3 separate regions of the Homo sapiens genome follow, and regions 1 and 2 are each linked to region 3. Evidence: promoter capture Hi-C in human tissues and cell types (Jung and others, 2019). All regions are on one chromosome and are shown on one strand. The core of a region is centred on a gene start or on the middle of the fragment in contact, and the rest is flanking DNA. Distances in the headings are between cores, read along the strand shown.

What was found. The method cuts DNA at HindIII sites, captures the fragments that hold promoters and counts their contacts. A contact is called where the count stands out against the background at its distance.
Region 1: a fragment that was not itself captured here is called in contact with the fragment with the promoter of CELA1 in region 3 in 1 of the 25 tissues and cell types used here (spleen).
Region 2: a contact is called between a fragment that was not itself captured here and the fragment with the promoter of CELA1 in region 3, in 2 of the 25 tissues and cell types used here (heart right ventricle and pancreas).

What each region holds. Positions count from the first base shown.
Region 1 is chr12:51,185,924-51,189,217 of GRCh38, reverse strand. It overlaps POU6F1 (POU class 6 homeobox 1), which reads left to right. Exons shown (of 11, transcript NM_001330422.2): 11 at 1-2,282. Among named protein-coding and RNA genes, the nearest start is that of TFCP2, 14 kb to the right of the region's middle. RefSeq lists an enhancer at 173-382 and a silencer at 753-892. The HindIII fragment of the contact is 6,472 bases long and covers 1-3,294 here.
Region 2 is chr12:51,507,025-51,510,397 of GRCh38, reverse strand. SLC4A8 (solute carrier family 4 member 8) reads right to left here. Exons shown (of 25, transcript NM_001039960.3): 25 at 1-2,972. The coding sequence ends at 2,960. Among named protein-coding and RNA genes, the nearest start is that of SCN8A, 83 kb to the left of the region's middle. The HindIII fragment of the contact is 4,227 bases long and covers 1-3,373 here.
Region 3 is chr12:51,344,723-51,348,240 of GRCh38, reverse strand. CELA1 (chymotrypsin like elastase 1) reads left to right here and starts at 1,562. Exons shown (of 8, transcript NM_001971.6): 1 at 1,562-1,618; 2 at 2,364-2,446. The coding sequence starts at 1,603. The HindIII fragment of the contact is 7,595 bases long and covers 1-3,518 here.

The DNA of each region.
Region 1 (3,294 bases), core at 766-3,265, 160 kb after region 3:
AAGGACAACATCCTGAAATAAATGATGGAGCCCAGGAAGGTCTCTTGTGGAAGTTGACTTAACTCTAATTTTCTTTGTAACTTTAAGCCTTGGATACGGGAGGAGAAATCTCATTTTGTCGAGTCTCAGACCATGTCTGTGTGTAAGCAATCCCCACAGTGTCCTCTGAGCCAAGGACACCCCCAGATCAGATTGAGTTTTGCTTCTAGACGGGGTAGCTATGGTACCTTGGGGGTTAGCTCTCATCCAAGCTGTTAAGTGAGTTTCCAGCCTCACTGTGGCTGGAAAGCCCCTAAAATTCAGTATGTAACTCCAGGAAGTCAGGAGAGAACTGAGATTTGCCTAGATGACCACAGGCTTGCGGTGTAGATTATCCCTAAAGGGCCCCAAGTCACGGGGGTCAACCACCCCTGTCTTCAGTACTCTTATCCTTACAGAGGCTGGTCTCTAACAGCTGCCTCCAGTGGACCTCCCATGATCCACCCTGAGGGAAGGACCGTCAGCTGGGGACACATCACCACCTCTGTCAGTCACTGGTGCAGAGCCACCTCCTAGCCTAGCTTCCTCTGGTGTCCTGTTTCCTTTCCCACTTACTGTTGGTGCCTCCCAGGCCCTGCAGTGCCAGCGTGGCCACCCTCTTGGTAGCCTGGCCAGTAAGAGGAGGACAGTTGTGTGCTGAATTAGCACACGCACGTGCAGCGCGCACAGACGCGCGCACACACACACACATACACGCTCTGCTGCATTTGGACAAACCATGCCTGCCAGAGTGTAGCAGAGGTGAGGAAGCAGGTGGGCAGCTTGCCTGACCCAGCTTTTCAGGAGAGCGTGTCTCCAACAGAGAGTCTCCACACTCTAGTTCAGGGTTATCGACCTGCCTCAATGAGATGACAGACTCATTTGGGAGGGGTGTTGCAAACAAGTTTTCAGTGAGAATAGTTAAGTTCCAGAGCTTGTAAAGGATTCAGTGACTGACACTTCAGTAAATTAGGCCAGGCACATTGGCTTATGCCTGTAATTCCAACACTTTGGAAGGCCGAGGTGGGCGGATCATTTGAGGTCTGGAGTTCGAGACCAGCCTGACCAACATGGTGAAACCCCGTCTCTACTAAAAATACAAAAATTAGCCAGGTGTGGTAGTGCACATCTGTAATCCCAGCTACTTGGGAGGTGGAGGCAGGAGAATTGCTTGAACCCTGGAGGTTGCAATGAGCTGAGATCACACTACTTCACTCCAGCCTGGGTGACAGAGCAAGACTCGGTCTCAAACAAACAAAAACTTATGGCGATGCAGGTTTTCATGCTCAGACGCTTGCATTCAGGTATGCTTTCTTTTTTGAGAGAGACAAATGGGTCACAGCTGGCACCCTGGGAATAGCACATAATCCAGGGTGTGTCTGTGGTGGTGGACGTGCAGGGGAACACCATCTGTCCTGTGTCATGATGGGAAAACAATCATGAACCACTGGTCTAAATTAGGCCTGGCCATGCTTTCTCAGCCCCTCCCTCATTTAAATTTGTCTTCCCAAAGCTGAGCTAAAACTAAACCATTTCTCCTCTGCTGGAATGATGGATTGGTCATTCAGAGGAACAATACCAGGGGTGGGAGGTTTGCAGGCTGAGTTCCCCAGGCATGGGGGTGCAGGGTGTCCCTGAGGTTTACCCAAAGCACAGCTCGCTGGCCTGTGACCTCTGCCCTTCCTCCCACAGTGTAAGACCCCCCAGGAAGCAGCTGGGGCCTGAACCTCTCACCTAGGAGGTAGGTTTATTTTATTTTTTGTTAGCATCAGGCTCTGAAGGAGTTGGTATACATTTTGTTTTGAAAACATCTTCTGGACTTACACCAGAGCTTAGTGTCGTCTTTACTATGGAAAGAGAGGAGAATGGACAGAAATGGTTTAACTGTGTGGAGTTTTGTTTGTTTTGTTTTAAATGGAAGAAAGACCAAAACTTTCCTGGTGGATCAGCTAGGGCCTTTGACCCTGCATTACCACGGCATTTTATCCAGGTGAAGTCCAGGGAAAGAACTCAGCCAAATGGACTAAGGAACACACGAGTTTGGAATGCGAGACTCTGACATTTTTGTGTTCTTGGAAATCCAATTACCTTCCCATGCCCAGATTTCCTTCCTGCCTCTTGGACCAGGCTCTGGCACTGAGGTTCTCACTGTTCCCAACACAGACAAAGCTTCCTGAGGGCTGGAGGGGCAGCAAGGGGAGAGGAGAATGGGGAAGAAGCGCTTGATGTAGTTGTGTGGAATAAACAGTATTTTTTCTTTTGTACTGGTCTGCTTGTTTCCTGTTCACTCTTCAGGGTAGAAATATTAGTGAAACAGTGTCAGAGGACAGGGAAGTGACAGTCTTTGCTGTCAGCTTGCAGCCTGGAAAATCCCATTGCAAGAAAGCAGGGGTCAGTACTCTGGATTCCCATTTCAGAAGTCCCTGCTTGGGCCCTCCTGCCACCACGACCCTCCCATCACATTGGGGATTCAGTTCTAGAGACAGAAGGGCACAGGGTCTCCTTTTAGAACACCCTTCTTATACCTAGAGCCCCAGAATTCTCTGCCAAGCCCACTTCCTGGACCCCTCCTCTCTGGGTTCCAGGAGCTGTGCCGTTGGTGTGCACACTTGTAGGTCTAAGAGGTGGCTGCCTTAGTCTGCTCTGGTTGCTACAACAAAGTACCTTAGACTCAGTGCCTTACAGACAAGAGAAATTTATTGCTCACAGTTTTGGAGACTGGAAAGTCCAAGATCAAGGTCAAGATCAAGGTCGATGTCTGATAAGAGCCCTCTTCCTCATAAACAGGTATCTTTTCACTGTAACCTCACATGGTGGAAGGGCAAGCAAGCTCCCTTGGCCTCTTTTATAAGGGAGCTAATCCCATTAATCTTACTTGACTAATCACACCCCAAAAGGCCCCACCTTAATCTAGTCAGCCCTCCATATCCCTGGGGTCTGTGTCCTCAGATACAACCTCAGATGGAAAATACAATATTCAAAAACAACAACAGGCCGGGTGTGGTGGCTATTGCCTGTAATCCCAGCACTTTGGGAGGCCAAGGCAGGCGGATTGCCTGAGCTCAGGAGTTCGCAACCAGCTTGGGCAACATGGTAAAACCCCGTCTCTACTAAAAATCCAAAAATTAAACAGGTGTGGTGGTACATGCCTGTAATCCCAGCTATTTGGGAGGCTGAGGCACAAGAATTGCTTGAACCCAGGAGATGGAGGTTGCAGTGAGCCGAGATCGTACCACTGCACTCCAGCCTGGGTAACAGAGCAAGACTCTGCCTCCA
Region 2 (3,373 bases), core at 30-2,529, 160 kb before region 3:
GGCTGGAGTGCAGTGGCATGATCTCGGCTCACTGCAAGCTCTGCCTCCCGCGTTCACGCCATTCTGCCTCAGCCTCCTGAATAGCTGGGACTACAGGCGCCCGCCACCATGCCCAGCTAATTTTTTTGTATTTTTAGTAGAGACGGGGTTTCACCACGTTAGCCAGGATGGTCTCGATCTCCTGACCTCGTGATCCGCCCATCTTGGCCTCCCAAAGTGCTGGGATTACAGGCGCGAGCCATTGCGCCCGGCCGGGAAGTTTTATCCTGCATCACTTGCAGGGATATCAGACCCTCCTCCAGCTGTCCTCGTACCAGCTGTGCAGGCTGCTGGAACCGCTGTTGGGACCTACAATCCCTAGAGTGACTGGTAATCACCATGCACAAAGGTGAACTGCAACTGTACGGAGGCAACCGAGCACCACACCCACAGAGCCAGGATCATCCAACCCATTCGCCCAACCCCAACCATCACCTCGTGGCAAAACCACCCAAATTCCTTCCCATCTTCACTCACAATCTTCCCCATGGAGTTCACCCCAACAACGCACCAAATCATATTTTTTTTAAAAAGTAGCTAACATTCCTAAGGCGCAGTGATCCAGGAGGGTCTAGCTCGAGAAGTACCCTAAAGTGCACAGGTGGTCCTGTACCTGCACTACACAGAGTTAATGAAGGCTCCTCCCCTCAAGCGGTCAAGGCAGCACAAGACATCCGTGTGTTAGGGGAGGCATTTTTCTGAGTGATACTCTCACCCAGTTTTGATACACTCCTTACAGCTGTGCTGAGGCTAGGGAAAGAGGTGAAATGGTCATCAACCTCCCCACACAGAGGTGGCAGGAAAAGATGGGAGGGGCAAGATAGAGCAAGAAAGGGGAGATGTTCTCAGGGAACAATGAAGATGAAAAAGTGGCAAGCTCAAGGAGGCAGCCAGAGAGGGACAAGGGAAAAGTCTGCAAGAAAGCTTATCCTCCAGATGGGCTGCCTTTTAATTCTTCCCAATTAGGTAGGTAAATGAGTACAATTACTACAGTTATCCTAAAGTGCTAAAATGTGAAGCTTTGGCTCATGAAGATTTTAATGCCCATATAGGTTCCAAGAAGCATGACCTATCCTGTCTGCACCATATATATATGAAAGGAAGCTAAGGCTGTGCCCAAAACAGCCTTGTGATAGAAATGAGACAAACCAGGAACAATACCCACGATTCAAAGGAACACCATTTTAATATCTGAAAGTAGCATAATGTTCAGCCAATAGGCATTGGTACAACCATACATACTGCTTGTTTACAGCAGGCATCCCTTCTGAGTGGCTGGCATCTGTCCTGTACCAGTTGTTAAAATATTTTGAAAATCATCTCTGTATTAAAATAATTGTGGCCCTATGAGATAGGGAATATGAAATAAATGAAGGATTCCTTTAACATCAAAGGTCTTTAGAGTAAGACTAGAATACATTAGTATATTTTAAAAGTCTAAGGAATGCAAAATTCAATAAAGTGATATAGCCAACCCTTCACCTAAGAAAGAAAAACACATCGGGGAACTTCCCACTGTACAAAGATTTTCCAGGATGGGAAACTAACATGATAGAATTATCTGGGTGCTAATGGGCTTGCTAGTTACATTCTGTGCACAAAGGAAGGAAAGGTTTATAAGCACTGGATCCCAAATACTTTACATTCATTGCAACATAGAAGAGAAGAGAAAAACTATAAATGTAGTTTTAAATTAAATACCAAAACTAATTTCACCACTTACAGTTCATTTCCCAGTGTGACTTTTTGCATCTGAGAGCCAGAATGTTTGTCAACCAAAAGAAATCCATGATGATGAAGAAACCACATGGCTGAAGGTGATTTTGGTCCATTGAACTGATGATCGTTTACTCTAAGGCAGCTAAGGAGACAGTACGTAAGCACTTGGATCTCGCCAGGATGGAATTGGAATGTATCCTCAAGAGACAGCAGCAAGAAGTCGAAGAGTCCCGCAAAATGGCCAATAAAAACATCATATCCTCCTTTCTATTCACAAACAACTATTATCAAATCTTTCCCAGATATCTAGAAAGCAGACACTATGACAAATCTTCAGGCTAGGAAGTTCTTCCTGGTATCTAAACTAATTCCTTCTGTTGCAATCTAAACTCAATCTCTTACTCTATCCTCAATGAAAACCAAGAGACACTGCTCATCCTCACTTACTGTTGATTTTCCCTGGATCCCTTTCCTATCTAAGCGACACAACTCAAATGTCCCTTCTTGGCTCTTGTATCATCCAAGATTCTTGCCAGTTATGCAGGCTGCTGCTAAGGAGTGATGGAGATGCACCCAGGTCAGAGGCATCTTCCTGGCTGTGGTGGCAGGCACTGCCAATGCCCAGATCATGGATCTTCCTGGTAGCTGACCTCCTGACAACCTCTGGGTCTGACCAGCATCCCCCAGGGGAGGTAATCAAACCAAGGCCCAGGGCTGCCTAGGAGCCTGTAGACACTAAGAGCACTGGAGAGCCAGAGAGGATGTCCTCTCTGTTCCCCTCCTACTCCCCACTCTGTCCTTTAGGAAGAGGGACCTCACTGAAGGACTCCTCAGTGGCAGAATGAATCCATATGGCTTGGCAGGCCAGCAGAGAATTTCAGAGAAAACGTCTGGAAAATGGGAAGCTAGGTCTTCAATGGTGGCCGTTCTAAAGAGAAAAAGAAGGAAGAGGAGAAGAACCAACAGGAGGTGGTCTTCTGCTTCCACATTCACATCTGGTGACTGGCTGCTGGTATGGGGATAGCTGGATGCCTTCCAATGCACACCAAGAATAACTGAATGCTTCGGCATGGCTTTGAGATGACCAAGGACAGGGCCAGACTTGGTCTTGCTTCTTCTCTGAGAGACTCGCCATTTTCTCTGTAACCAGAACTTCCCTGAGGCACCACACGGCCCAAATCTTCCATCCCAGCAAAGACTCTTAGTTGAAGAGACTGAATAAAAGTGTTACAATTAGACAAAAAGGGAACATATGATTCATTCCTCCTTTTAACACAATACTTTGAAGATGTCACCACAATTTGGATCTGGCTATATTTTAAGTTCATTTACAAGTAGACTAGTTCTCAACTAAAAATAACCATGTGCGTTATACATTTCGACAGCTGCCTGGATTTTCCTCCGAAGGAAACAAGATTCTATATTTCACTCACATTCAGCAGAGATTCATTTTAACCCATTCGATGAAGACATAAATCACCACTACCACCCACTGGTGGCTGTGACTTTTCAGAGCACTTCAGTTTCTCCTTGGAGCAGCCTCAGGAGTGGGGCAGTTAGTTATTATTATCTCCATTTTCCTGCTGAGTAAACTGAACACCAGAAACAGTGGTCT
Region 3 (3,518 bases), core at 313-2,812:
GGGTGGGCAGGTGATGGTCCTGCTTCTGTCTAGGTTCCTGGCTTCTCCCTGCCTAATTCCAAACCCCATGCGTTGCTACCATGACTGCTGCACCCACAGTCCTCTGCTCTGGAGCCTGCAGTGGCTCTGATCATTTTGTGGCCAACCCAAGGGTCCTCTGCCCACCTCAAGGCACATTGCAACTCTTTTCTCTCTCTATTTATTTATTTATTTATTTATTTATTTATTTATTTATTTATTTATTTTGAGACAGAGTCTTGCTCTGTCTCCAGGCTGGAGTGCAGCAACCTCCGCTTCCCAGGTTGAAGCGATTCTCCTGCCTCAGCCTCCAGATTAGCTGGGACTGCAGAAGCGCACCACCATGCCCAGCTAATTTTTGTATTTTGTTTTTGTTTTTTTTTAGATGGAGTCTCGCTCTGTCGCCCAGGTTGGAGTGCAGTGGCGCGATCTCGGCTCACTGCAAGCTCCGCCTCCCGGGCTCACGCCATTCTCCTGCCTGCGCCTCCCGAGGAGCTGGGACTACAGGCGCCTGCCACCACGCCCAGCTAATTTTTTGTATTTTTTTAGTAGAGACGGGGTTTCACTGTGTTAGCCAGAGTAGTCTCAATCTCCTGACCTCGTGATCCGCCCGCCTCCGACTCCCAAAGTGCTGGGATTACAGGCATGAGCCACCGCGCCCGGCCAATTTTTGTATTTTTAGTAGACGGGGTTTCGCCATGTTGGCCAGGATGGTCTCGATCTCTTGATCTTGTGATCCGCCCGCCTCAGCCTCCCAAAGTGCTGGGATTACAGGCGTAAACCACCGCGCCCGGCCGCAACTCCCTTCTCTCTCCTCTACGAACTGTGATGAACAAAGCCTTTCATCTCCTGCAGGAACCTCGGCTCCTACCCTCGTTCTCCCTCTGCCCTCCACCCTCCATCTACCCTCATAGCCCTCAGACTGTCTTCACATCCCAAGGATCCCCTCCTCTACCCTGCCTCATATTCTCCTCTGGGAGCCCCTTCTTGGCTCTCCATCTGAGAGGGCCCAAGCCTGTTTCTCAGTACTTTCCTCCCCCAGAATTATCTCCACTGCATCTATTTGGCTTTTGTGTCTGCATTTACACCTATGCCTGCATCCTGGGGGCATGTGCCATCTCCCTCTTTGGGCAGAGAGAGTTGCTGTGTCTTCCTTGCCCTTGCTAACCACTCCCCCCTCTTCCACTATCCCCCTGGCCTCCAGCTGCTAGTGCACAGGGCAAGTCTCTGCATTTATGGTGCCACTGAGGACAACGAGAGAGTGATGGATGACAAGGGGTGCTCCCTTAGAGAAAAACCAGCCCTGGTTCTCCATCTTATTTCTGAAAAAGAGTTTGTTGGATGCTTTTCAATTAAAAGCAGATGATTAATTCAGCCCTGGCCTTGTTCTGTCTTTGAATAACAGATACATTAGTTTACTTGAAAAGAAATATTTTCATTTGTATTTCCATGTCACTTGTGATTTTCCCTGCCTTGCACCCTCAGCCCTGCCAGTTGGCAAGAAGACAGTCAGCTTTGCTGCTAAGAGGAGTATAAAGAGGGCTTGGTCCAAGCAAGAAGGCAGTGGTCTACTCCATCGGCAACATGCTGGTCCTTTATGGTAAGTGGATATGGTCCAGTCGCAACCCTGGTCCTTTATGGTAAGTGGATCATGTGGCCTGAGGTCTATAGGGAGGGGGACTTGGGCAGGAAGGTCAGCAAATTTTCCCTAAGTCCAGGCCAGCACCCTGTCCCAGGGCAGGTGGGACGCTCTGCCTGCAGAGCGTCCTTTACTCTCCTGGAGGCCAAGATAGAAAAGGTCAGGGCCACTGGCTATTCAGGCCCCTCTGGGTGGCAGGTCCCTGGGCCACAAAGCAGAGAGAAGCCCCATCTGGTAGTGGGGTGGGTCCCTGGGCTTCCCCACCACCCCCATTGACAGGAGGACTTCCTCAGCAGGTGCCTGGCTGGGGTGTGCACTGCAGGCCCTGAACCCTGGAGAATCTTGCCAAAGCATTAGGGGGCTGGTGGGGGTCAAAGAGTGGGGGGGGGTCTCTTCAGGCCAAAGGGTGATCTTGAGCAAAGAGGAGACCACAAGGAGCCTCTGGGGCCTAGCCTGGTGGTTTGAGAGAGGTCCTTCATAGCATGCCGGAGTTCTGGGAACACCTGGGGGAAACAGAAGGCACCCAGGCACCCCTGTTTTCAAAAGGGGCTCAGAGAACTCACAGCTGGGCCCCTCATTCGTTAGAGAGGAACTGTGAATTTGCAGACAAGGCTAACATTCCTCAAAGCACAATCGCCACCCCCCACCCCTACCCCTGGCTGACCCCATGCTTAGTCATCACTCACTTTTCTTCTGCCCCACAAAGGACACAGCACCCAGGACCTTCCGGAAACCAATGCCCGCGTAGTCGGAGGGACTGAGGCCGGGAGGAATTCCTGGCCCTCTCAGGTGGGTGTTCCTTCCCAGCCCCAGACTTCCACCCAAATAAGAGCTCAGTGCATGACATAAGGTATCATGTGTATTTGTGCATGTCCCTATCAACAAGCAGCTCTCCAATTGTCTAGGTTCTCGATTTTAAAGATGGATGGGATCAGGCTTAGGTGGTTTTCTAAATGCAAAAGGCTTGGAGGAGGGGATTTATACACCAACCACAGTCCCTCTTCAAGGCACACACCCAAACACAAGATACATTTATATTCTCAGCGACAGCACTTGTGCCACGCAAGAAAGACTGGGTGCCAGACAGTCACCTTGGACTCCACATACCTTGAAACTCACACGCACACCACTCCACACTGTGTGTGTCACAATGCTTGCACGCATGTGCGCGCACACACACACACACACACGTACAGCATGCTGCTTAGTTGGCTATTTAGAGTTTCCACTTTGCTAACAGGGCAGCTGGGCCCTGATTTAAGTGATCTAAATATGTAAACCTGGCAAATTAACTGATGAAGATCCACACTTTGAGAAGATATCACTGCAATCAGAGTTTTAGCTTATAAAAGTCTGAGCCCCAGTTTTCAGGAGTAGAGCTATTACATAACATGAGGTGCTAGAAGAAGAGACATGAACTGATAAAAACAAACATCCTATTGGTATTTTTTTTTTTTTGAGATGGAGTTTTGCTCTCATTGCCCAGGCTAGAGTGCAATGGCATGATCTCGGCTCACTGCAAACTCTGCCTCCTGGGTTCAAGCAGTTCTCCTGCGTCAGCCTCCTGAGTAGCTGGGATTACAGGCGCCTGTCACCATGCCCAGCTAATTTTTGTATTTTTAGTAGAGACGGGGTTTCACCATGTTGGCCAGGCTGGTCTCAAACTCCTGACCTCAGGTGATCCACCCGCCTCAGCCTCCCAAAGTGCTGGGATTACAGGCATGAGCCACAGCGCCTGGCCTCCCATTGGTATTTCTAAGTAGTCCCTGAAGTGGGGAGACAGGAGATGTCTTGAAAACACTAAAGGTACAGCTCTGGAGACCTAAGCCTGTTGGGCTTAGGTGATGGAGCAAATCTTTGC